Linked DNA regions of Homo sapiens: regions 1, 2 and 4 are each linked to region 3. The links are contacts of gene promoters, found by promoter capture Hi-C in blood cells and fetal thymus (Javierre and others, 2016). All regions are on one chromosome and are shown on one strand. Each heading gives the region's core, a stretch centred on a gene start or on the middle of the fragment in contact. The rest is flanking DNA. Distances are from core to core; before and after follow the strand shown. Region 1 overlaps FBXO42 (F-box protein 42). Region 2 overlaps ARHGEF19 (Rho guanine nucleotide exchange factor 19). Region 3 holds the start of PLEKHM2 (pleckstrin homology and RUN domain containing M2). Region 4 overlaps SZRD1 (SUZ RNA binding domain containing 1).

Region 1 (6,272 bases), core at 3,604-6,103, 570 kb before region 3:
TGACTTCTGGTTGCTGAACTCACTGTATAAAAGCTGTATGTTGATCTCTGCCACCTCATTTGTTCTTGTATGGTAAGTTTTTTTCCAGTTCACCCACAAATTGAGGTGGGGGTATACAATTGATTTAACTTTCCCCTACTTAGTTGAGATAATTAAGATGCTGAAATTAAGTTGAGCTATTTAAGATGCTCCTACTTTGTGACATAAAATAGGCCATGGAGATAAATTCTAGATGGAGGAGTTCTCCAACTTCATGAGATAAAAAGTAGAGGGAAAGATTTTGCCTTTCTAAAAGGTCAAGATATCTGAGACGTCGTTTTGGAAAGCCCTTACCTAAGATAATCCTAGAGGATCTCTTATATTGATTTATCATTATCACTGGCCTCAGCTTACCTTTCCTTGGAGAGTTCGGAGAATAAGTAAATGGTCCTATATTAGAGGTGGAGTGTGTCCCAGAGCCTTGTAGAGAAAAAGAGGTTCTAAGAATAGCCTTCTGTTTAATTTACTTCTCTCTGACTAGGTCTTTGGCTTTACCGGATTAAGATTGAAGAAAGAACTTCTTCAGCTTTGAAACACTAGACCTTTTAAGGCATCAGACTTGTTTGTGGCAACTATTCAGAAGGAATGTATCTGTATGCATGAAGTGCAGCATGATATATTCTGACTTTAAAGCTCATTCTTTTAAGGTGAGGTGGCTCATGCCTGTAATTCCAGCACTTTGGGAGGTGGCAGAGGTGGGAGAATCACTTGAGGCCAGGAGTTTAAGACCAGTCTGGGCAACACAGAGAGACCCCCATCTCTACCCAAAAAAAGAAAAAAATTAGCTGGATGTAGTGGCCTGTGACTGTAGTCCTAGCTGCTTAGGAGGCTGAGGTAGAAAGATCCCTTGCACCCAGGAGGTCAGAAGTGCAGTGAGCCATGATCAGTCACACCACTGCACTCCAGCCTGGGTGCCAGAGTGAGACCTCATCTCAAAAAAATAAAATTAAAAATTAAAATCCAGAATAAATGGATTAGAATCCTGGCTCTTCACTTATTAGTTCTACGACCTTGGACAAGTTATTTAAAGAGTTGTGCCCTCAGGTTTCTTATCTGTAAAATAGGAATAAAACTAGGAATTTTAGAAGGATTAAATTAATTAATACATGCAAAGCACTTAAAAAGCTGCATAGTAATTGGGCCAGGCGCGGTGGCTCACACCTGTAATCCTAGCACTTTGGGAGGCTGAGGCCAGTGGATTGCCTGAGCTCAGGAGTTTGAGACCAGCCTGGGCAACATGGTGAAACCCCGTCTCTACTAAAATACAAAAAATTAGCCGGGCGTGGCAGTATACGCCTGTAATCCCAGCTACTTGGGAGGCTGAGACAGGAGAATAATTTGAACCTGGGAGGCAGAGGTTGCAGTGAGCCGAGATCGTGCCATTACACTCCAGCCTGGGTGACAGAGTGAGATTCTGTCTCAAAAAAAAAAAAAAAAAGCTGCATAGTACATAATAGATGTAGATGCTCAATAAATATTAGTCATTACCATCAGTAGCAGTAGTAAGAGTTATAGTAACAATAATTGTCATTTCTCTTGGAGTTAAGTTATTCATCTATCCCTGCTACTTTCCCGTAATCCCCAAGCATAGGCACACTGTTGACAAAGTTAAAACCTTTTTCTAAAATACCGCTATTAAATAGAACTTTCTGCAATGATAGAAATGTCCTACATCTGTGCTCTTCAGTTTGATAACCACGGGCAACATGTGGCCAGTGGTGACTTTGTTGGGCAGTACAGATCTAAAGTGTAGTCTTTCCTCTACTTACATTATGTATGCCATGTTTTATGAATACTTTTAAAAATTCTATGAATATGTCCCACCTTAAAAGGTATATATTCTTTCTTTCTTTTTTTTCTTTCTTTCTTTTTTTTTTTTTTTGAGACAGAGTCTTGCTCTTTCACTCAGGCCAGAGTGCAGTGGCTCAATCTCGGCTCACTGCAACCTCCACCTCCTAGTTTCAAGCAATTCTTGTGCCTCAGCCTCCTGAGTAGCTGGAATTACAGGCGTGGGCTACCATGCCTGGCTAATTTTTTAATATTTTTAATAGAGACAGGATCTCACCATGTTGGCCAGACTGGTCTGAAACTCCTGACCTTAAGTGATCTGCCTGCCTTGGCTTCCCAAAGTGCTGGGATTACAGGTGTGAGCCACTGCGCCTGGCAAGAGGTATATATTCTTATACTGCATTTATAATTTCTTTAAGCCCAGTATCTCAAATCCAAATCCACATTCTAGTCTAGAGAGTTTACATTACTATTTTGCTGAAGTCTGTGATGTGTTTATTTGTTTTTTCTTTTTTCTAACTGTTTCATAGTACTGATGATTTCCAAGTTAGAGGCAAGAACTTGGAAGCTTTGTCTGGTATTTCACAAATTAAATTATTTTAGAGCAATAGTTGTGTTTTAACTAGACCATTATATTACTTAGGCTTTCTAATTGGGCTAGGAGATAGATCCCCTTGGGGAGGTAAATGTTTTTGACCAGGAACAGTAAGGCTATATGAAAGACAACAGCCTCTTTAATCACTATTCTTGTGGGATTTGAGGGTAGAGAATACCTCAGCACTTCAGATTGATGTGATAACTCTTCCTAGAGAAGATTTCTGACTGGGTGAGGTGGGTAATGCCTATAATCCCAGCACTTTGGGAGGCTGAGGCGGGAGGATCGCTTGAGGCCAGGAGTTCGTGGCCAGCCTGAGCAACATAGCAAGACCTGATCACAACAAAAAAATTTTAAAAATTAGCTGGATATGGTATTACATGCCTGTAGCCTCTGCTACTCGAGAGGCTGAAGCAAGAGGATTGCTTCAGCCTGAGGAAGTCGAGGCTGCAGTGAGCCATGATCGCATCACTGCACTCTAGCCTGGGTGACAAAGCTAGACCCTGTCTCAAGATTAATAAATAAATAAAGACTCATTTCTACAGTCAGTTCCTGTGGTCTGGATTAGTGTTGGTTTTATTTATGAAAGTATTCAAAATAGTTGACACGGACAGGCACAGTGGCTTACACCTGTAATCCTAACACTTCGAAAGGCCAAGGCGGCAGGATTGCTTGAACCCATGAGTTCGAGACCAGTCTGGGCAATGCAGGGAGTCCCCATCACTACAAAAAATTTAAAAATTAGTCGGGCATGGTGGTGCTTGCCTGTATTCCTAGCTATTTGGGAGGTTAAAGTGGGAGGATCCCTTGAGCCCAGGAGGTTGAGGCTGCAGTGAGCCGTAATTGTGCCACTGCACTCCAGCCTGGGCAACAGCAAGACCCTGTCTCAAAAAAAAAAAAAGGAAGAAGAAATGAAAAATAGCTGATGCCACATGGTGTTCTTAGATGCTCACCCTGTACTCTTCAGGACTGATGCCTTCTCAGTAAATCGTATTGTTCCCCTAAGTGAGATCACAAGAAAGACAGTCCTCTGCTCTACCTTCTCAACCTTGAGACTTTGTAAGTGACACCATTAAAGCAGTCTGAGCAGGGCTTTTCAAACAGTGTTCTGTAATGTGCTACTGAAAGAGGAAGCAAAGCTCTCCACCTAGATTGGAGCATCTCGACTGCTGTCAGGTTAATGTAGTGTTGGGATTTCTTCTGCTTAAGATATCCTTTGAAAAATGAGTCCTGCAGCTTTAACCAAAAAGAAAAAAAAAAGATTTTAAAAAAAAAAGTATTCTCAGCGAGGCATGGTGGCTCACGCCTGTAATCCCAGCACTTTGGGAGGCCAAAGCGGGTAGATCACCTGAGGTCAGGAGTTTGAGACCAGCCTGGCCAACATGGTGAAACCCCATCTCAACTAAAAATGCAACAATTAGCTGGGCATGATGGCAGATGCCTGTAATCCCAGCTACTCAGGAGGCTAAGGCAGGAAAATCACTTGAACCCAGGAGGTGGAGGTTGCAGTGAGCCGAGATTGCATCATTGCACTCCAGCCTGGGTGACAAAGCGAGACTCCACCTCCAAAGGAAAAAAAAAGTATTCTGGTATTTACTGACACCTGGATATTGGGACAAGTTACTTTGGTCTTGAGGAAACTAAAGGTGACATGTAGAGTGAGGGATGGGGAAAAATAGCAATTGTTATTTCAAAGACAATAGATTTTGAAAAATTATGCTCCTGTAAGACATTTGTTATCTCTAAAGTTTTCCAGCATAAGCCAAAGTGTTTTTTTTCAGAATTTGGTCAGTGTAGCCCAGAGGTCCAGTCTAGATGGTGTTTGGTGTAAGACTTATGGTTTCACTGGAATTCCTTCACACCAATCCTTGAAGGTCTGCCCCATTTGTGCTAGGCTGAGGCTATCTGGTTATGTGAAGCCCATAGCTAGGGGCCTGGAGGTCCCTATGTTAAAATTTGACTCACGGGACAAATAAGAACTGCCTCCTGCCTCCTTTTCTTACCTGTGTTTTGTAACGAGTTATTTTTAAGTTGCATCCAGACATCCAGCCTCTATGTATACTTCTCCCTGGTCCTCTACATTCTTTCTTTTCTTTGTGACCTCTGTTAAGTTTGTTAAAGGGATGGGAAGGGGTGCTCATTTGTTGAGCACTTTCTATGTGCCAGGCATTATGTTAGGTGCTTTGAATATACTATTTAATACTCAAAACAGCCTTATGAGATAGGTACTCTCATCCCTAATTTTAGGTGAGCAAATTATAAACATGAGAGAGGCTAAGTAACTTTTCTCTAACTCATATTTCTCTGTTAATAATAAAAGACGTGTGAATTAGTGATGATTTTCTCTCAGACTCAAACCCAGTTTTCTTTCCACCTTTCCTCTACACTTTGTAGTATTAGTTCCCCTTTTGTTGCTCTTCCAGGGAAAGGTGATCTATGGATAGCCTAACTACGGATTGTTGTGAGATCCTGAATGCTAACCATGGTGTTACTGACTTTCCCTAGGGTCCTATCCTTCCCCCAAAGCTGGAGCAACTCTGGTCGTGTACAAGGACTTGCTAGTGCTGTTTGGTGGCTGGACGCGGCCAAGCCCTTATCCCCTACACCAGCCAGAGAGATTCTTTGATGAAATACACACTTACTCACCCTCTAAAAATTGGTAAGTCACAAAGATAAACTCTTTAAATCTGGAAGAAAAGGCCTTAAATCAGTGGATTCTTTGTTTTTTTGTGTCAAGAGTCCCTTTGAGAATTAGATGGAAAGCTGTGGACTCTTTTCCCAGGAGGGGAAAAATGCACATATTCACAGATTTTACCAACAGTTTCAGAGAGTTTACAGGACTCTCTTAGAACCCTGCATTTAGAATCCTTATTCTAAAGAGAAAAAATAGAAGAGATTTATTCCTCTTTCAAGAAAAATGAATGAGCCAGTTGAAGAACAGCGAGCTCTTCAGCTTTGGCTGCTAACACTCCAGGAGTGTTGTAGATCCAGATGATTCCTTACTCCTAACTGTGTCTCCAAGACTTACTCTGAATTGTTTTTCAAACATATATCTCTTAATGACAGCAACCGCCGTTTCTTGTAATGGAAGACTTAGTACGTGGCGCTTGTTAGCTGTTACTGATCAGGACCATAGGGAAAGGTAGCAGGTGGCAGGTGGTGCTTTGTCAGCAAACCAGGCCAAAGAAGCCATGATCTTGTCTCTTGTCATCGTTTTCTCATCTCTCTCCCTCCAGACCGTTTACATTCAGAACTTGAAAGAAGATAACTTTAAGCAAACTTGTAGGAAAGGCATAAATACATTATGCCATCCTCTACTTATTATCCCAACAAATCTCTGCTGAAAGTGATAGGATTATCATTTTAAATGGATGCCTACTTACTATTTTTACATAAAGTGTGTGGTGCTGACTTCTTGACTTCCTCCTGTCTTTTTACATTAGGTGGAACTGCATTGTGACAACCCATGGGCCACCTCCCATGGCTGGCCACTCCTCCTGTGTGATAGATGATAAAATGATTGTCTTTGGTGGCTCTTTAGGATCCCGGCAAATGTAAGTACATTTGGTTTGCTCCATATGAGCCTGAAGGTAAATACTCCTGGGAATAACAGGTTTAAAAGTGAATTAGGGACCAGGTGCCTAATTCACACCTGTAATCCCAGCATTTTGGGAGGCCAAGGTGGGTGGATCACCTGAGGTCAGGAGTTTGTGACCAGCATGGCGAACATGGCGAAGCCCCATCTCTACTAAAAATACAAAAATTAGCCGGGCATGGTGGCACACACCTGTAGTCCCAGTTACTTGGGAGACTAAGGCAGGAGAATCGCTTGAACCTGGGAAGTGGCGAT
Region 2 (6,581 bases), core at 3,004-5,503, 520 kb before region 3:
TCACCCGCCTCAAGATGTTGGTGGAGGTACCTCGAGGGGACAGGCCACAGTGAGGGCTGGGCGAGGGAGATACACCTGTGGGCGGGCCGGGTCTCGGGAGTATGAGGACTGCCTCATTGTGCTGATCCCACCTTCCAGAACATCCTGAAGCGGACAGCACAGGGCTCTGAAGACGAAGACATGGCCACCAAGGCCTTCAATGCGCTCAAGGAGGTGAGCTGGGCAGGGCAGGGGCTGCTTGGCTCCTGAGGCCCCCCCTGGACCCCCAGCACGTCTCTAAAACAGCCCCCAGCTGTCAGAGTCTCCGGTCCCCAGGCAAGAGTCTGAGGCTGGGCTCTGGGAGCCGGAGCTGAGGGGCTGCAGGTGACCTCCCCACGGCTCCCCCAGCTGGTGCAGGAGTGCAATGCTAGTGTACAGTCCATGAAGAGGACAGAGGAACTCATCCACCTGAGCAAGAAGATCCACTTTGAGGGCAAGGTGTGTGTCTGCAGCCAGCGGGATGGGGACCCCAAGGGGCAGCTCTTGTTTCTTCCTTGCCCTGGGGGCTTCAGGCCAGTTAATCGCTGCCCACACCCTCCCATCTACCATCTTGTGCTCTCTGCCTGGTGCCCCTGGGCCTGACCCATCCTTCTCCATCCCTCTAGATTTTCCCGCTGATCTCTCAGGCCCGCTGGCTGGTTCGGCATGGAGAGTTGGTAGAGCTGGCACCACTGCCTGCAGCACCCCCTGCCAAGCTGAAGCTGTCCAGCAAGGCAGTCTACCTCCACCTCTTCAATGACTGCTTGCTGCTCTCTCGGCGGAAGGAGTGAGTCGGGGCAGTCAGGGGTGGGTAGGTAAAGTGGAGCCAGGCTCTCTTCCTCCCCACCACTGGGCTTATGACCAGTCCATCCCTGGGCCTGGGAGTCCCTGCCTGTGCCAGGGTATGCTGCCAGGGCACCCTGAGATTTGGAGGCTCCTGAAGCAAAGGCAGAGATGTGAGACAAGTCCATGTTCCAGAAGGGAGAATCAAGGGCTAGACTGTATGCCGAGGACTTGGAGATGCTGTGAGCTTCAGCCAGTAAGAGCAGAGACTAAGAGCATAGCCCTAGAGTCCCAACTCTGCCCTGAGTCACAGCTATGCCAGAAGCCAACATTTACTCAGTACCTACTCTGTGCAAGGCATGCTACGTGGATTATTCCCTTTAATCCTCCAAATACCTCCCTGGGAAATAGGCTTCTCTGTTACTCTCAGATCATGGAGCTAGTAGGTGGGGGAGCCAGGAGGATGCCAGCTCTGTCTGATGGCAGCACCATGCCTGACTCACAGTGAACACTTGTTCAGTATTAGCTGGGATTGTTAGGAAGAGTGAGGTAGAAGACTACCTGGATAAGGTGAATGGGATAAAGGATGGACATGTGGGCTGGGCACGGTGGCTCACACCTGTAATCCCAGCACTTTGGGAGGCCAAGGTAGGAGGATCACTTGAGTCTAGGAGTTCAAGACTAGCCTGGGCAACATAGTGAGACCCCATCTCTTAAAACAAAAAAGGATGGACATGTTATGCTATAAGAAGAATTCATTCCTGATTTGTTTGTTCATTTAGTAAACAGTCACTGAATCTCTGTTCTGTAGCAGGCCAGTGCTAGGGACATAAATATGAATGAGACTTGTTTTCTGCTCACAGAAGCTCTCAGACAGTGAAAATACATTCTGACAACCATATCATCAGGGTTTTGATATAAGGGTGTACTGCGGTATTTCCTGGTGTGGAGTGAGAATCAATAAAGCTTCATAGAGGACAGGACATTTGAGCTGGGTTTTGAAGGATGAGTAGGAGTTTTCCAGGTAGACAGGTAGTTTGAGTGCAGGAGTACAGCAGAGTCATGGTAGGGTAGAAGAGCGGAATGTGTGTTTGGGAATCATGAAGCCTAATGTGGCTGGATTTGTAAAGGAGAAAGGCAGCAGAGGGAAGTTGGGATGTTGAAGGTCATGATAGAGAGGTTGGACTTTTTCTGAGGCAGCAGGGAGCGTGGAGAGTTAAGCAGAGGGATGATATTTTGCTCCTGGCCAATTTGGAGGATGAACTGGAAGGGGAGAGGCCAGAGGGTCTTGCAGTTGCTCAGGAGAGGGTAGATGCTCCAGAAGTGGCAGGGTACTTCAGGATAAGTGGATTCAAGGGACAATAAGGAGGAAAGACAGGACATAGCTACCAGATGGGTGTAGGGGGGATGGAAAGGGAAGAGGTGAGCATGACGTCTGAGTTTCCTCTTGGGCAAACTGGTGGGGTCTTTCACTGGAATGGAGAACAGTAAAGGGGATCTGGCTTGGAGTGGGAGAAGCTGAGTTTTTTCTGATGCCGAGTTTTGTTGAATGAGTTGACGTCTGTGGAACACCCTCCACCCATCCTGCCTACAAGTACTTACTGAGCCCAAATTGTGGGTCAGGCAGTATCATCAGACACTGAGATACAGTGGCAAAGAGACGAGGCTCAGCCTTCGTGGGGCTTATATACTGGAAGAGAGTTAGACACTCCTCAGGGGAGCTGTCCAGTTGGCTCTTTGGAACAGACGCTTGGCAGAGAGGTTCAGAGAGAGGTCATGAATCGCTTGAACCTGGAAGGCGGAGGTTGTGGTGAGCCGAGATCATGCCACTGCACTCCAGCCTGGGAGACAGAGCGAGACTCTGTCTTAAAACAAAACAAAACAAAAAGCCAAAAAACTAACAAATAAAAAAACAAAAAAAAGAGAGAGAGAAAGGTCAAAAGTGTGCTTGGGGCTCAGGGACTGGTCTCCATCACCTCCAGCCTCCACCAGCAAGCCAGCGGGGAAGGAGCTCTTGGTTCCTTGTGGGGACTAGCAGTGCCCTATCCAGAAGCAGGACCCTGTGAGAACGCTGGCAGGGCAGGCAACCCCTTCTCCCCACTTCCAGTCAGAACCCACCTGATCCCGAGGGTGGGTGCCTAGAGCCAGGGCCCAGGCCAGGCTGACCTCCCCTCCCCCGGTCCTCCAGGCTAGGGAAGTTTGCCGTTTTCGTCCATGCCAAGATGGCTGAGCTGCAGGTGCGGGACCTGAGCCTGAAGCTGCAGGGCATCCCCGGCCACGTGTTCCTCCTCCAGCTCCTCCACGGGCAGCACATGAAGCACCAGTTCCTGCTGCGGGCCCGGACGGAGTGAGTGGGCCTGGATATGGGAGAGAGGAGGCTCCCCCTCCCCATGACAGGCACCCCGTCCCCATGATGGGCACCCCGTCCCCATGGCGGGCACCCCTGGGACATCCTGGCCTTGTTCCTCCCCAAGTGCTCAACTCTTCCCTGACTTGGGCAGGACACAGGGGCAGAGGGCAGGGCTGGAGGCCAGAGTAGGGGTGCCTGCCCCACAGGTGGTGTCAGGGGGCTGCCACCTCCTCCTCAGCCTCTGGGCATCTCTTGGATGTAAACCTCCACACCCTGCTATCTCTGGCTTCAGGACTGTGGCATTAGGCAGGATGGGGGTAGGGCTGGCATCCAGGGGGTTCTGGGCCTGTTATGCTCAGAGCTGGGTGGGGCACAGGCTTGGGAACCGGGTTGTGGGGTGGGCCCTGGGGTGGGGCAGACATGGGTCCCTAGGGTAGGCCTGGGTCCTAGGCCTGGACATCATGTCTGGCTCCCCCAGCCTTGGTTTCAGCACCCTGCCCTGGGCAACTGCACTTTGCATATTGTGACAACTTAGCCTCCCCCTTCCCTAGAAGTGAGAAGCAGCGATGGATCTCAGCCTTGTGCCCCTCCAGCCCCCAGGAGGACAAGGAGGTCATCAGTGAGGGGGAAGGTAGTAGCTCATCCCTGCTGCTTACATCCCTGGGCTGGACCCTCGCCCGCTCTCCTCCCCTCCCATCCTGGGTGCTGTGTTGCTGGCAGGGCTATGGGGAGAGAGACCAACTTCTGGGGCAGTCAGGGGTAGCTCTGAGGAACCTTGAAGGCTGGGCAGAACTTACATAGCACAGGTGGACTCTGTGTCCACAGGCAGCATCCTGGAGATCATAAAGCCTTCGTAGCCTCCCATTTCACCCCTGTTTTACAAGTTAGAAGAGAGGTTCAGAGATAAATGGACTTGTGTAAGTTCACCCAGCCAGTAAGTAGCAGAGCCGAGACCAGAGCCCAGGTCTGTCTCCATCTTTGCGTCAGTTGCAAACAAGACAAGAAGCAGCCAGAGCCAGGGTATGAGGGGTGGTGGGGGTAGTGGTGGCAGGTGAGGCATCTGCTCAGCTGGAATAAAGGTTTTTCCTTTGGGTGTGAAGTGAGGCTGGTAAGCCAGGGTGCGACCTAATCATAGAGAGCCTTCCTATAGTGTCCCTAGGGAGCTATTGAAGGTTTGTTTGGGGTTTTTTTGAGACAGGGTCTTGCTGTATTGCCCAGGCTGGAGTGCAGTGGCATGATCATGGATCACTGTAGTCTCAACCTCCTGGGCTCAAGTGATCCTCCTGCCTTAGCCTTTTGAGTAGTTGGGACCACAGATATGCACTACCACACCTGGATACCACACCTCTATTTTTATTTTTTGTAGAGATAGGGTATTGCTATGTTGCCCAGCCTGGCCTCAAACTCCTGGACTCAAGCAATCCTTTCCCTTCAGCCTCCCAAAGTGCTGGGATTATAGGCATGAGCCATTGTGCCTGGCTTATTGGAGGCCTTTATTTATTTATTTTTTTGGAGACACAGTTTTACTCTGTACCCCAGGCTGGAGTGCAGTGGCACAATCTCTGCTCATTGCAACCTCCACCTCCTGGGTTCAAGTGATTCTTATGCCTTAGCCTTGCGAGTAGCTGGGATTACAGGCACTTGCCACCACGCCTGGCTTTTTTTTTTTGAGACAGAGTCTCACCCTGCCATCCAGGCTGGAGTGCAATGGCACAATCTTGGCTCACTGCAACCTCCACCTCCCAGGTTCAAACAATTCTCCTGCCTCAGCCTCCCAAGTAGCTGGGATTATAGGCGCCTGCCACCATGCCCAGCTAATTTTTGTATTTTTGGTAGAGGCAGGGTTTTGCCATGTTGACCATGGCTGGTCTCGAACTCCTGGCCTCAAGTGATTCACCTGCCTCAGCCTCCCAAAGTGCTGGGATTACAGGTGTGAGCCACTGCACCCAGCCTTAATGGAGGCTTTTGAGCAGAGGAGTTAGGGCTGAGCTTTAGGTAGTAAAGGGAAAGAAAGGGCACTCATGCCCACTGAGCGCCTGCCATAGGCCAGGCCCAGGGCTAGGGGCCTTGTATTTGCATTAAATCTAATTTAATCCTCATGGCAACCCTACTAGGTAGACATTTTTCATATCTGAGAAAACTCAGGCTTAGAAGGTGAAGTAAATTGGTCACACAGCCAGTAAGCGGCAGAACTGGGATTCAAGCGAGGTCTGGCCCCTCAGTCTGTGGCTTTGGATGCTACCAGCCCACCTGGTCTAATGAAAAGAGCTGAGGACCAGGAAGGGGGTAGATGCTCTGGCTTGAGCTAGGAGTCCCACCTGGGTGGGGGTAAGCTCTCTATTCCCAGGTGGTCAGGGGAGGTCCCTGGCAATTAACATCTGACCCCTGAAGGATGAGGAGAGGTTGTCACGAAAAGATCTGGGGAAGAGCATCTGGCAGAAGGAAGAGCCAGCACAAAGGCCCTGGGGCAGGAGGGAGCTTAGAGTGAGGAACAGCAGGGAGGCTGGTGTGGCTGGAGCTTTGTGAGCGAGTAGGGAGGGAAAGTGGAGGGGAAAGTAGGGAGGGAAAGTGGAGGGGAGAGTAGGGAGGGAAAGTGGAGGGGAGAAGACGAGGATAGCAGGGGGCGATGCCAGACCATGAAGGGCCTTGTAGGGCCTAGGGAGGACTTTGGATTTTATTCTAAGAGGACTGGGAAGCCCTGGAGGGCTTTAAACGGGAGCGATGCAGCTTGAATCCCAGTTGGGAAGGATGGGCCAAAGGGAGCACCAGAGTGATGTTAGGGGCACATTGCAGGGCCGTTACTGTTTTCTGTGGGGTATCTGGGGGCAGTTGGACGTTGGGGTCTGAAGGTCACAAGCAAGGTGTTGGCTTGAGCTGGGGAGGGGACAGCCCTTGGTATAGAGGCAGAAACTGAAGCTGGGAGGGACTGGATTAATCCTGCACTTGTGTTTAGGGTAGGAGAGGAGATAGGCCAGGGTGGGCAGAGGGTATGCCTGCTTGAACGTGGGCCTGTGGCATGGCAGTGGCAGAGGAATAGAAGCCTCAATGGCCACCTTCCCACCCCCTTACTTCCTCCTACTGCCCCTCCCTGCCCTACCCATGCTCCTCCCCCTGCCATCCTGCCCTTGGGACTCCCTGAGCCTCCCTTGGGCTGTCAGATTGCCCCCAGGTTCAGTGTGTTAGGACATACAAGGCACTGCACCCAGATGAGCTGACCTTGGAGAAGACTGACATCCTGTCAGTGAGGACCTGGACCAGTGACGGTGAGGGGGCCTCCTGGGAAAGTGTCCCTGATGGGGCTTGGGTGGGCAGGAGGTGGCTAGATGACTAAGATATCACAGGGAAAGGTTCTGCAAGTGTTGATCTGCCACAGCATGTGGGAATCAGGTTAGATGAGAGGAGGAACTTCCTGCTTGTAAAGATATAGGAT
Region 3 (6,371 bases), core at 3,279-5,778:
AAGATGTTATTTAGTAGAACCACATGCTGATTCAAAAATGCCAAAGCTGTCGTTGACTTGGACATTTCTCTTTAACAAATCGGCAACCACAGGCTTTACTGGCAGCATCTGGGATGTTTCTGCTACTAGCTCCCTTTCTAGAATTGAATATGAATTGAATTTGCTATTGTTATCATTTCCTTTTTTTTTTTTTTTTTTGAGACAGAGTCTCCCTCTGTCACCCACGCTGGAGTGCAATGGCGCGATCTCAGTTCACTGCAACCTCCACCTCCCAGGTCAAGTGCTTCCCTGCCTCAGCCTCCCAAGTAGCTGGGACTACAGGCACGCGCCACCACACCCAGCTAATTTCTGTATTTTTGGTAGAGATGGGGTTTCACCATGTTGGCAAGGCTGGTCTTGAACTTCTGGCCTCAAGTTATCCATCCACCTTGGCCTCCCAAAGTGCTGGGATTACAGGCGTGAGCCACCATGCCTGGCCTATTGTTATCATTTTCATTTAATCATGTTAATTATTAAACTCTCCAGTTCTCTCTCACCCTCAGGAATTCTGTGTCCATATCAGAACACAGGTTGCCTTGGATTCAGATGGATTAACAGCTGTTTCACCTGTCTGGTGTTATAATGGGTATTCACCATCACAAAATCTAAGTGTGAAAATAGTTGAACTCAACAATACTCCTTGGGGATAGTGGTTGCTTTGAGGGTGTAGTTTCTGGGAGGGGAACGAGGGGCCCTCTGGGATAATGGTCATGTTCTGTTTCTTGGTCAGGGTGCTGGATATGCAGGTGTTTTCACTTTGTGAGAACTCATTAAGCTGTCCGCTCAGGACCTGTACACTTTCCTGTAGGCATGCTTCATTTTCATAAAAAGTTCTAAAGTACTCTTTGCAAATATAGAAATACACAATGGATCTTTCCTTGCAGAAATATGCATCTCATTTTCTTCACGTAAAATCCTTATAAAATGACCAGTAAGACCATTTACTGGTGGTAGGATGCAAGAAAAAAGGCAAAGCAACTCTCAAGGTGCTATATAACACATTTAGGTGAGACTGGCATTCAAGGACAAATCTGACCCCAAGACTGCTGTCCTCAATGTCTACTGCTGTAGCCAAACTAACAGGTTCCTAGTAAAGCAGACACTCTGATTCAGAAAACCAAATGTAATTTATGATGCAAGAATCACATCGCAGTTGTCTCAAACAAACACACAAAGGAAGTGGCTACCAAGAACAAATGGTGTTGTAGAACGACCTTTAGGTGGTGAGGCAGTTGAGCCATCTTCAAACCTTGTAAAATTGAGGAATGGGCTCTTGCACAAAGAAAAAAGCTACCAGTTAAGACTGGGCCAGGATCCATGCTAAACACTCTACATGTTTATTAAAACTTCACCATGCCTGTAATCCCAGCACTTTGGGAGGCCGAGGTGAGCGGATCATGAGGTCAGGAGATCGAGACCATCCTGGCTAACACGGTGAAACCCCGTCTCTACTAAAAATACAAAAAAATTAGCCGGGCATAGTGGCGGGCGCCTGTAACCTGTAGTCCCAGCTACTCGGGAGGCTGAGGCAGGAGAATGGCGTGAACCTGAGAGACGGAGCTTGCAGCGAGCTGAGATCACGCCACTGCACTCCAGCCTGGGTGACAGAGCAAGACTCCATCTCAAAAAAAACAAAAAACAAAAAACAAACAAACAAAATCTTCATAACACAGCCTGACCAATATGGGCGAAATCCCATCTCTACAAAAAATACAAAAAGTAGTCGGGCACGGTGGCTCATGCCTGTAATCCCAGCACTTCGGGGGGCCAAGGCAGGCAGATCACTTGAGGTCAGGAGTTCAAGACCAGCCTGGCCAACATGGGGAAACCCCATCTCCACTAAAAATACAAAAATTAGACGCTGGGCGCCGTGGCTCACGCCTGTAATCCCAGCACTTTGGGAGGCCGAAGCGGGCAGATCACAAGGTGAGGAGATCGAGACCATCCCTGGTTAACATGGTGAAACCCCGTCTCTACTAAAAATACAAAAAAATTAGCCGGGCGTGGTGGCCGGCGCTTATAGTCCCAGCTACTTGGGAGGCTGAGGCAGGAGAATGGTGTGAACCCATGAGGCGGAGCTTGCACTGAGCGGAGATCAGGCCACTGCATTCTAACCTGGGCGACAGAGCGAGACTCCGTCTCAAAAAAAAAAAAAAAAAATTTAGCCGGGTGTGGTGGCGCACACCTGTAATCCCAGCTACTCGAGAGGCCGAGGCAGAAGAATCGCTTGAACCTGGGAGGTGGAGGTTGTAGTGAGCCGAGATCACACCACTGCCCTCCAGCCCAGGCAACAGAGCAAGACTCTGTCTCAAAAACAAACAACAACAACAACAACAACAAAAAAACACTCCACAACATCCCTAATTTTATCCCTGCTTTACAGATGAAGAAACTGGGCATGGAGAGGTTAATAAGCCTGACCAAGGTTACAGGGTTATTAATTTGGCAGGGCGGGGATTCAATCAGGCAGCTGGACTCCAGAATCCATGCTCCTAACAATGATGCTGCCCATGGCTTTGGTTGTGATACACCCAGGGATGGGTTTGCAGTTTCTAGTGTGACATTTTCTGGGGTGCATTCCAGCTCAATAAGTGTCCTTGTCCAAACACCTACAATTATATGCACCTCAACAAACACACCTAACTCATAAGTGACAGCCTGACTTACAAAGTGAATCTCTGCCTTCAAAAGACTCATGCTTATACATGTGACAGCGTGCCCCATGTCTACTGCCTCTCCATCACAGACTTTCTCCATTCATTTGTTTGAAATCCAAAGACAAACGCCGGGCCTACCTAAAGCCACAATCAGCCCAGATTAGATTAGAAAGGTCACCTGTGTTCCTTTCTCTTCCATTAGGAAAGATGTACTGCTTCTCAACAAAGTATTTGCTCATCCTGCCCTCCTTGAGTAAGCAAAAACCATACCCCATTACATTAGCAAAGCTCAGTAAAACTACGTAAAACTCTTGTTGGATCTCTGCAATGTTACTTTAGCTGTGCTTTTAGAGGAATGTTTTCAGTAAGGGCAATTCGAGAATCTATTTTCTTTTTAAGTCACATTTATCTTTATGAAAGGTAAAATAGCTTGCCTGTGTTGCTTTTGAGGAATCTCAGTGGGAAAACAGACAATTATTTAAATATGATGGTTGATCTAATTAATTCTATCCATTTTGCTTCTTCAAGTAAAATAAGCTGCTGAGTCCCTCACCCAAGCCATTTTCTTTCTCTTTTTTCTTTCTTTCTTTCTTTTTTTTTTTTTTTTTTTCAGTTTCTGAGACTATCTGGTGAGCCAGGAATTCAAATTACACAAACACACACACAGAGAGGGAGAGAGAGAGAAAAATCCATTCTGATTTGGCCATTTAGGTTTTCAGTGAATATGGATTCTTTTAAATTTATTATTATTATTTTTATATCCAGCCCAAAAACGTCAGAATATGGATTCTACCTTCTAGCACGGACCCTTTTGCGGATATGCCAACTTCATCACAAATACATGCCCTTGACAGGTATGTACTCATTTCTACCTGGAATTGGGACAGTGATGTTTACTGCGGCAAGCCCCACAGCAAGGTGTCTGTGGTGTCACCCGGTTCCCCGGATCAGCATCCAAAATGCAATCCCCATGTACTTCAGGTTCTTATAATCAAAGCCCCTAGTGAACCTCTTCAAAGCTACCATCCTTGAGCAAGATTATTCAGGGGACTTCCCAGGAGCAGAGGCAATGTCGCCGGGACCCAGGCCATGGGAAAGTGAAGTTGCTTATCACTGGCCTCCACCCTGACTGCCAGACCCTGGGCGACGCCAGCCTGGCGGGGGGACCCGGGGATGCAGCGGATTCCACAGGAGGCTGCATGGGGTTCCTTCAGGAGCTCCCGGGGGCGCCGCTGCCCCAGTGGGGGACCGGAGGGTCGCTGACCCCTCTCCGGGAGGGCAGGGCCCCGGGCCAGGTTTGGGGAAGCTCCGAGGATGCTGACCTCAACTTTGTTCTTTAAAAATAGCTCCGAGGCCGCGGCGCTCACGTGAGCGGCGCCGCTTCCCCTCTACCGGCCCGGGGCTCCCGGCCGCTCGTCGCCCCCCGGGTCGCGGAGGGGAAGGGCGGGGGGCCCCGGCCCGGGAGAGCGCCGCCGGAGGGCGTGGGGGGCGCGGCGAGGAAGGGGCCCCGGCCGGGAGGGAGGCCGCGCTCACCTTCTTCACCGACAGCGAGATGTTCTCCAGGATCCGGTCCTTCACCTCCCCCGGCTCCATGGCGCTGCCACCGTCGCCGCCACCGCCACCGCCACCGCCGCCGCCGCCCCGCCGCCGCTTCCCGCGCCGGGGGCCGGGGGCCGCCGCCAACCGCTGCCGCCGGCCGTACGGGGGCTCCGTCGTGCCGGCCGCGGGGCCCGGCGCCCGCCGCCCGGCCCTCGCCTCGCCTGGGCCCTCGCTCCACCGCGGCCCGGAGGCTCCGGAGCGCGGCCGGCGGGGAAGGAGGCCGCGGGCTGTGCGCCGCGGCGGCGGCGGCGGCAGGAACTGATGTCAGGCGGGGCGGCGCCAGGGCCCGCCTGCGCCTGGGGACTCCGGGGACCCGGAGACCCGCACAGACCCTTGGCCGCGGCCCTCCCCAGAGACCCCGAGACCCGCCCCCAGCCCTCCTCAAGTCACAGACTCTCCCCGGCACCCCAGAGACACCCTCAGACCCCAGGGACGCCAGAGACCTCGACCCCGCCTGCCGGGGACCTCGGGGCTCCTCAGAGACCCTCCCCAAGCCCTCCTCAGCCCACAGATTCCTTCAGGGACCCCAGAGACACCCTCAGACCCCAGGGACTCCGGACACCCCGACCCCGCCTGCCAGAGACCCCCACAGACCCTGGGACCCCGGCCCTCCTCGGAGACCCTCCCCCAGGCCTCGTCAGCCCACAGATTCCCTCAGGGACCCCAGAGACACCCTCAGACCCCAGGAACTCCGGAGACCCCGACCCCGCCTGCCCGGGACACCGGCCCTCCTCAGAGACCCTGGAGACCCTCCCCCTCAGCCCTCAGGCCATAGACTCCCCCCTGGGACCTCAGAGACACCCTCAGACTCCAGGGACTCCGGAGACCCCAACCCCACCTGCTGGGGACCCCCACAGACCCTGGGCCCCCAGCCCTCCTCAGAGACCCCCAAAGACCCCGAGGCACTGGCCCTCCCCAGAGACCCTGAGACCCTCCCCACAGCCCTCCTCAGCCCACAGGATCCCCCCACAAAACCCCAGAGACTCCCACAGGCCCCAAGGACTCTGGAGACTCCGACCCCACAGGCCAGAGACCCCCACAGACCCTGAGACCCCGGCCCTCCTCAGAGACTCGAGACACCCACAGACCCTGGGCCCCCTCCCGCCGGCCCTCTTTAGTCCACAGACCCCTCCTTGGAGACCCCAGTGCACCCCACTAACTCTGGCCAGGGACCCCAAGACCCTCTTAGCCTGCAAGCCCCACTTATCTTCCTCCCCTTCCTTAGCCCAGCCACCCCCTCAATGTGCAGACCCAGGCCCCCTGGCTTTCGCAGCCTGGAGGACCCAGCACCCCCACCGGGTCAGCCTAGACTCCAGTCCCCAGCCCTAGACCCTCCCTGGGCCCCCTGGCCCTCCACAGCCTCCCCTCCTCAGTGCCTCACCCTCAAGGCCCAGTCCTACATTTGAGGTCCCTGGTGTTCCTCCCCACCCCCAAAACACACCCTCCTCACCTTCAGCCCCAATGCCCCATTCCCACTCCTTATCCTTATCCCTCTTCTTCAGCCCCACGTATCCCAAGGGCCTCAACTCCCTCAGCCCCTGAAACCCACCGTAACAACTCTCTTCCCACACACCCTCCTCAAATCCACCATCTCATAAAGCCCCTGCACTTAGAGGTGTCAGTCTCCTACCTGGCTCTCTTCCCTCCTTAAGTTCCCAAATAAATATATCCTGACACATAGATTAGTCCCTCCTTTTTATTCTCAGACACCCCAGTTCTCAACTCTGGTTCCCTGGTCTTCCCTCTTCTCTGCTCAGGCCACCCCATCCCTGAAGTCCCCTTAGCATCTGAAATACTGATTCATTGCTTATCTCAGAGGGACCCCACAAGCCTCCAAAGGTCGCTCCCCAGCCCCTTAGTTTCCCAAGGAGAGACCCAAAATAGTGGTACTTTGTTTTTTGTTTTTTTTGTTTTGTTTTGTTTTGTTTGTTTTTGAGACAGAGCCTTGCTCTGTTCCCCAGGCTGGAATGCGGTGGTGCGATCTCTGCTCACTGCAACTTCCGCTTCCCAGCTTTAAGCGATTCTCCTGCCTCAGCCTCCCGAGTAGCTGGGACTACAAGTGCATGTGACACCATG
Region 4 (7,090 bases), core at 3,315-5,814, 690 kb before region 3:
AGACTGCCTGAGCTCAGGAGTTCCAGACCAGCTTGGGCAACATGGTGAACCCGTCTCTACTAAAATACAAAACATGAGTCGGGCATGGTGACATGAGCCTGTAGTCCCAGCTACTTGGGAGGGTGAGGCATGAGAATTGCTTGAACCCGGAAGGCAGAGGTTCAGTGAGCAGAAATTGCGCCACTGCACTCTAGCCTGGGTGACAGAGAGAAACTCCTTCTCAAAAAAAAGAAAAAAAAATTATCTGTCTCCATACAGACTATTGGGGTTTGTTGCTAATTTCTGTGGGGCATGGTTTTACCTTAATATCCTGCACAGAGCTAGATGTTAAAGAGAAGGATGCTTGGTAGGAGCAAACGGTTTTAAGAAAAACACTCAAAGGCCAGGCGTGGTGGCTCACGCTTGTAATCCCAGCATTTTGGGAGGCCGAGGCGGGCGGATCACGAGGTCACGAGTTTGAGACCGGCCTAGCCAACACAGTGAAACCCCATCTCTACTAAAAATACAAAAATTGGCTGGGTGTAGTGGCGAGCACCTGTAATCCCAGCTACTTGGGAGGCTGAGGCAGGAGAATCGCTCGAACCCGGGAGGCAGAGGTTGCAGCGAGCTGAGATTGCGCCACTGCACTCCAGCCTCGGCGACAGAGCTAGACTCCGTCTCAAAAAAACAAAACAAAACAAAAACACTCAAGAAGAGAAATCTCTATGGATACTACATTAAAATTTTTTTATTTTATTTTATACTTTGGCCACAGATTTAAGTAGCTAAACTCAACCTTCTCCTAGGAAACCAACAGGTCAGTAGTTTTCCTGACAGAACACACCTTGTAGAGGCTAGCTACCTGATACAGCCAGAAACTGATGCTAGCTGTCGGGGCCAACAGCAGTGGAGAGGTGGAAACTGGAAAGGGCTGGCCCCTGGAATGTTTTCAGTCATCAGACCTAGACAACTGTGACTTTTCTCTGCAGGACTGCACCAACAGTTTTAGAAAGACGCACTAAATCCTCTCCTGTCATAGAAGTAAAAACAAGAAGGCCTGTGATTGCTGGAATTTCTAGCCCACGGCAACCATGGCAGCTCTCTTGATACCCAGAGCACGCTGGGAACAGGCCCTCCCATGCAGCCAATGAAAAAAGGGCTGAGAAGTTACTAGTGAAAAGCTCATTATCCTCCTTTCTTTGAAGCCACAGTGAAACCAACCTTTTTCCAGAGTCCCAGGGACAGACTGCTCAGCAGAATCATGCCTAAACTGCCCAACTGCTTCACAGAAAGCCCCTTCTGAGGACATCACAGTCCATAAGGCTCAACCTTTCCAGAAAGACTAGCACCAACTGAGAGGTGGCCCCTTTAGGCATGGTGTATCTGGAACTGTGCTTTCTGTGATACCACAAATCTTAAATGCCTTCTTTTTACTGCAGGGACAGACATAAAGAAATCAGCACCAGATAGCCCCAAACTAATTGATCTCTTTTTTCCCACTACCCATAGCCTTTTTTTGTTGTTTTGTTGTACATGTTCCAAAATGACAGCAGCTACACAAAGCATTGGGGACCCCAGAGTGAAGCGGCAGTCACACTTTGGGGAGAATGGCCTCTTCTCCAAAGAAAGAGAAGAAAATCAAAGTTCTGATCTCCTGAATTTAATCTAACTATGGGCCGGGTGTGGTGGCTCACGCCTGCAATCCCAGCACTCCGGGAGGCTGAAACGGGAGGATCACTTATGTTCAGGCATTCGAGACCAACATGGGCAACATGGTGAGACCCTGTCTCTACAAAAAAATCAAAAATAGTCAGGTGTGGTGGCGCATGCCTGTAGTCCCAGCTACTCGGGAGGTTGAGGCTGAAGTGGGAGGATCACTTGAGCCTGGGAGGTCGAGACAGCAGTAAGTCATCATTGCACCACTGCGCTCAGCCTGGGTGACAGAGTGAGACCCTGTCTCAAAAAAAAAAAACGTGTTTTGTTTTTTTTTTTTTTTTGAGACGGAGTTCCACTCTTGTTGCCCAGGCTGGAGTGCAATGGTGCAATCTCGGCTCACCGCAACCTCCACCTCCCAGGTTCAAGCGATTCTCCTGCCTTGGCCTCCCGAGTAGCTGGGATTACAAGCAGGCACCACCACACCTGGCTAATTTTGTATTTTTAGTAGAGACAGGGTTTCTCCATGTTGGTCAAGCTGGTCTCGAACTCCTGACCTCAGGTGATCCACCTGCCTCAGCCTCCCAAAGTGCTGGCATTACAGGCATGAGCCATCGTGTCCGGCAAAAAATTTAAAACATAAATAAATAAATCTAGCTATATCACTCTTCTGCTTAAAAAAAAAAAAAAAACTTCAAAGCTCCTTGCACTTTCAGGACAAAGTTCAAGCTTCCAGAACCAAGTACAAGGAAGCCTTTCCCAATCTGGCCCCTACATACCTCTGTGGTCTCATCTCTTTCCACTCAACCCTGCCAACCCTCTCCCCTTCAGCCAGAAGGAAATACTTGTAGCCCTCCCAATGCTGTGTATTTGTCTCTCGGCCTCCTCATCCATGCCTGCTTTGGCCCTACACTCTACCTGCCTCTCCCAGACTTACCACTGCTTAATTCAACTGATCTTTCAAATCTTAACTTAGGCATCGTCTTCTTTACAAGACTTTCTCTGATCCAGCCATGGTACCCCACTTATGCCTCTTCCTGAAGGTGCTGCCGGACCTGTCTGACTCCCCCACTAAACAGGGCCTCCATGCCTGGTATGCAATAGTTATTTAATGTTTAATGACACCTTCCTATGGACTCATACACCATCCAGCATCACTGATGGGGCAATGTTTGGATAACTGGCTCATGGGGGTAGAAAGTAAACATAAATTTCAATTCTTAATCCAGAACACCAGTCATCCTTTAACTTATTCAAGATGCATTTTCTTCCCACTAGCTGCATGCCTTGACCTGGAGAAAAAGAATAAAAGGAAACTTGCAAGATACAGGGAAATCAGAGAGGTTGTCAGTGCTTTATAATAACCACTGGTCCAATTACATTTTTATATCATCTGCTGCCTTCCCCTAGCTGGGTTAGCTCATTACCAACACTATGAACTCTTTTTTTTTGAGACAGAGTCTCACTCTGTCACCCAGGCTGGAATGCAGTGGTGCGATCTCTGCTCACTGCAACCTCTGCCTCCCAGGTTCAAGAGATTCTCCTGCCTCAGCCTCCGGAGTAGCTGGGATTACAGGCACCTGCCACCATGCCAAGCTCATTTTTGTATTTTTAATAGAGACGGGGTTTCACCATGTTGGCCACGCTGGTCTTGAACTCGTGACCTCAGGTGATCTGCCCGCCTCAGCCTCCCAAAGTGTTGGGATTACAGGCGTGAGCCACCACGCCTGGCATATTTTATTGATTGTCTTAAACAATTGGGGATATAGGACGAAACCCTGTCTCAAAAAAAAAAGAAAAAGAAAAAGAAAAAAGTGTTTGCCATACTAACTAAAAGCAAAAAGTCTATTCACAGAATATGTGAGGGACTTCTCAAAGTCAGTCTTTCTCCAAATGACACAATAGGACTTGATACTAAGAATTCGGAAGCTATACAGGAAACAATGACCTCAGATGACTCACACACACAAAAATTCTTCCAGTCTGGGCAATATGGCAAGACCCTGTCTCTACAAAAAAATTTTCTTTTTAAATTAGCCAGGCACATAGTGGTACACGCCTGTGGGCCCAGCTACTCAGGAGGCTGAGGCTGCAGTGAGCTGTATTCCGACCACTGCACTCCAACCTTGGCAACAGAGCAAGACCCTTCTGTCTTAAGAAAGGGGCCAGGCGCAGCAGCTCACGCCTGTAATCCCAGCACTTTGGGAGGCCGAGGCGGGCGGATCACGAGGTCAGGAGATCGAGACCATCCTGGCTAACACAGTGAAACCCCATCTCTACTAAAAATACAAAAAATTAGCCAGGCGTGGTGGTGGGTGCCTGTAGTCCCAGCTACTCGGGAGGCTGAGGCAGGAGAATGGTGTGAACCCGGGAGGCGGAGCTTGCAATGAGCCGAGATTGCGCCACTGCACTCCAGCCTGGGCGACAGAGCAAGACTCCATCTCGGGAAAAAAAAAAAAGGGGAAAAAAAAAAAGGAAAAAAAAGGAAGGGAGAGGGGGGAGCAGAGGGATGGGAGCAGAGGGAGGGGAGGGGAGGGGAGAAATTCTACATGATGTCAAAAAATTTTTGGCTGGGCATGATGGCTCATGCCTGTAATCCCAGCACCTTGGGAGGCTGAGGCGGGTGGAGATTGCCTGAGACAGAAATTGCCTGAGACTGCAGTGAGTGTTCCCCACTGCACCCCAGCCTGGGCAACAGAGCAAGACCCTGTCTCAAAGAAAAAAGACAAAAATTTTCTTGTGGTGTTGGAGGGCAGGGATCTCCAAAATCCTTTACTTCCAAGGATTAGAACTGCCGCTGGATTTTTGTGTAGTTTCAATTTTCCCATTTAGGTTATTAGTCTTCACCCAGTTTTTGCTGTTTTGGAGTAGGGTATTCAAAGCTCATTACCAGTAGGAAGAGGGGATAACCTGAAGCCAAGACTTTTACGCAATTGCCTATATATGAAAGACATGTATAGCCTGCAGTCCATTGGTTTCCCAGTGATGTGGACATAACATCTCCCTGGCTCCCCTCTTTCAAAAGTGCATATTTACAAGAACCTTTGTGAAATTTGAAAAGGGAATCAAATTCAAGACAGCGTTCAAATATAAGCCCAGACAAACTATTAAAAATGAAAGCTGGCTGAGGGCAGTGGCTCATGCCTATAATCCCAGAACTCTGGGAGGCTGAGGCAGGAGGACTGCTAGAGCCCAAGAATTCAAGGTTGCAGTAAGCTATGATTATGCCACTGCACTTCAGCCTGGGAAACCAAATGAGACCCTGTATCTAAAATAAATAAATATTTTTTTTTTTAATGAAAGCTGCCAGGCATAGTGGCACATGCCTATAATCTACTGGGAGGCCCAGCCTGGGCAATCTCATCTCAAAAAATAAAAAAAAAATTAAAAAAAAAAAGGCCAGGTGCAGCGGCTCATGCCTGTAATCCCAGCACTTTGGGAGCCTAAGGCAGGAGGATCACTTGAGGCCAGGAGTTCGAGATCAGCGTGGCCAACATGGTGAAACCCCGTCTCTACTAAAAATACAAAAATTAGCTGGGCGTGGTAGCATGCGCCTTGTAATCCCAGCTACTCGGGAGGCTGAGGCACGAGAATCGCTTGAACCTGGGAGGTAGAGGTTGCAGTGAGATGAGATTGAGCCACTGCACTCCAGCCTGGGCAATGGAGTAAGACCTTCTCTCAAACAAAAAAAAAAAAAAGGAAAAGAAAGAACACCCAATTCCCAAATTTTCCACATGTCCCCAGGTAGAGAGGTAGCAGCAAAATGCTAGAGAAAAAAAGCCCAGCCTTGAAGTCAGACATGCTTGGGATCAAATCCCAGCTTCCCCCAGCTGTGTGATCTTGCGCAAAACAGGTTACTCTCGAAACCTCCGTTTCCTTGTCTATAAAAGGGGGACAATGCCTCAACAGGTTGTTTCAAGGATTCAATTAAATAAAATATATTAGAGAACCTGCATTTTGGCAGAAGTGTTCATGATGTCAATAAGGCAAGGTTTGTGTTCCACCTCTGTAGTTTTTTTTTTTTGTTTTTTTTTTTGATGGAGTTTCACTCTTGTTGCCCAGGCTGGAGTGCAATGGCATGATCTCGGCTCACTGCAACCTCCGCCTCCTAGGTTCAAGCAATTCTCCTGGCTCAGCCTCCCAAGTAGCTAGGATTACAGGTATGTACCATAGGGTCCAGCTAATTTTTGTATTTTTAGTAGAGATGGGGTTTCACCATGTTGGCCAGGCTGGTCTGGAACTCCTAACCTCAGGTTATCCACCCACCTCAGCCTCCCACAGTGCTGGGATTACAGGCGTGAGCCACAGCACCTGGCCGCGGTACATTTTTAAAGGATATTACTAAAGTAAGGGATAGCAGAAAGAACTCTGGCTTTCTGCCTCCGCTGCTGCCATGGCTTCTGTGAAAAAGCCTGTGGTGAAGGGGGGCAAAAAAAAGAAGCAGGTTCTGAAGTTCACTCTTGAATGCACTCACCCCGTAGAAGATGGAATCATGGATGCTGCCAATTTTGAGCAGTTTTTGCAAGAAAGGATCAAAGTGAACGGAAAAGCTGAGAACCTTGGTGGAGGGATGGCGACCATTGAAAGGAGTAAGAGCAAGATCAACGTGACATCCGAGGTGCCTTTCTCCAAAAGGTATTTCAAATATCTCACCAAAACATATATGAAGAATAATTTACGTGATTGGTTGCTCCTAGTTACTAACAGCAAAGATAGCTACAAATTATGTTACTTCCAGATTAACCAGGACAAAGAGGAGGAAGATGAGGATTAAATTTCATTTATCTGGAATATTTTGTATAAGTTTTTCAATAAAACTTGGGAACCAAAAGAAAAAAGAAAGAACACGCGACAAGCGTCAGAAAGACCTAAGTCTCTAAATCTCACATCTCTAGGCTTATTCAGCTGTTAAATGGGGGACTGTACTAGCTATTTCTAATTGACTTACCCATTCTGAAAAACTAAAGTAAGCCCCAATTTCTGCTGAATCCTATTCATTTTTGTTCATTTGCCTCCAACTTCTCTAACATGAGGGATTTATGACCCTTTGAAACAGGTGAGGAAAACCAAAGAAAGGCCAAGATGCCCAAGAAACGTATCATTTGCATGATATTAAAGTTGTAAGCCAAGCTTTTTTATAGGGATGTCTGGATGATTCACTCAGATTAGTGGTAGGCAATAAACGCCTGTACCGAAAATGTTGCATTTTCTGGCACAAAGTCACTGATAAGCACACTGCCTAGCATATAGCAGACACTCAAAAATGCTGGTTGAATGAACAAGGAGCCAACTGACACCTGTTACTCCCTATAAAATCTTTAACTTTCTTAAGCCAAAACTCAAGAAAGATGGTTGTCACATTAAGAACTCTACTAAATATCCTCTGAACGAACGAATCCTTCAAATTCTCAATTATGCTAAATGGAAAAACATAAACAACCGTTGAGAGAAATGCTGA

What was found. Contacts are between HindIII fragments. The CHiCAGO score rates a contact against its expected background, and 5 or more counts as called.
Region 1: a fragment that was not itself captured here is called in contact with the fragment with the promoter of PLEKHM2 in region 3 in 1 of 17 cell types (activated CD4 T cells); the score reaches 6.8 in activated CD4 T cells.
Region 2: a contact is called between a fragment that was not itself captured here and the fragment with the promoter of PLEKHM2 in region 3, in 1 of 17 cell types (monocytes). The highest score is 5.5, in monocytes.
Region 4: a fragment that was not itself captured here is called in contact with the fragment with the promoter of PLEKHM2 in region 3 in 1 of 17 cell types (total B cells); the score reaches 5.3 in total B cells.

Annotation. Positions count from the first base shown.
Region 1 is chr1:16,255,415-16,261,686 of GRCh38, reverse strand. It overlaps FBXO42 (F-box protein 42), which reads left to right. Exons shown (of 10, transcript NM_018994.3): 5 at 4,928-5,081; 6 at 5,866-5,976. Among named protein-coding and RNA genes, the nearest start is that of CPLANE2, 21 kb to the right of the region's middle. The HindIII fragment of the contact is 4,911 bases long and covers 2,398-6,272 here.
Region 2 is chr1:16,198,983-16,205,563 of GRCh38, reverse strand. It overlaps ARHGEF19 (Rho guanine nucleotide exchange factor 19), which reads left to right. Exons shown (of 16, transcript NM_153213.5): 9 at 1-26; 10 at 139-213; 11 at 388-477; 12 at 645-805; 13 at 2,990-3,148; 14 at 3,703-3,782; 15 at 6,310-6,414. Among named protein-coding and RNA genes, the nearest start is that of ARHGEF19, 10 kb to the left of the region's middle. The HindIII fragment of the contact is 4,968 bases long and covers 1,770-6,581 here.
Region 3 is chr1:15,682,477-15,688,847 of GRCh38, reverse strand. It overlaps PLEKHM2 (pleckstrin homology and RUN domain containing M2), which reads right to left and starts at 4,528. Exons shown (of 20, transcript NM_015164.4): 1 at 4,230-4,528. The coding sequence starts at 4,289. RefSeq lists an enhancer at 3,545-3,604 and silencers at 3,835-3,904, 4,425-4,504, 4,595-4,674. The HindIII fragment of the contact is 15,543 bases long and covers 1-6,371 here.
Region 4 is chr1:16,368,466-16,375,555 of GRCh38, reverse strand. All of the region lies in intron 1 of SZRD1 (SUZ RNA binding domain containing 1), which reads right to left. It also overlaps the pseudogene RPL22P3. Among named protein-coding and RNA genes, the nearest start is that of SZRD1, 4.8 kb to the right of the region's middle. The HindIII fragment of the contact is 4,401 bases long and covers 2,364-6,764 here.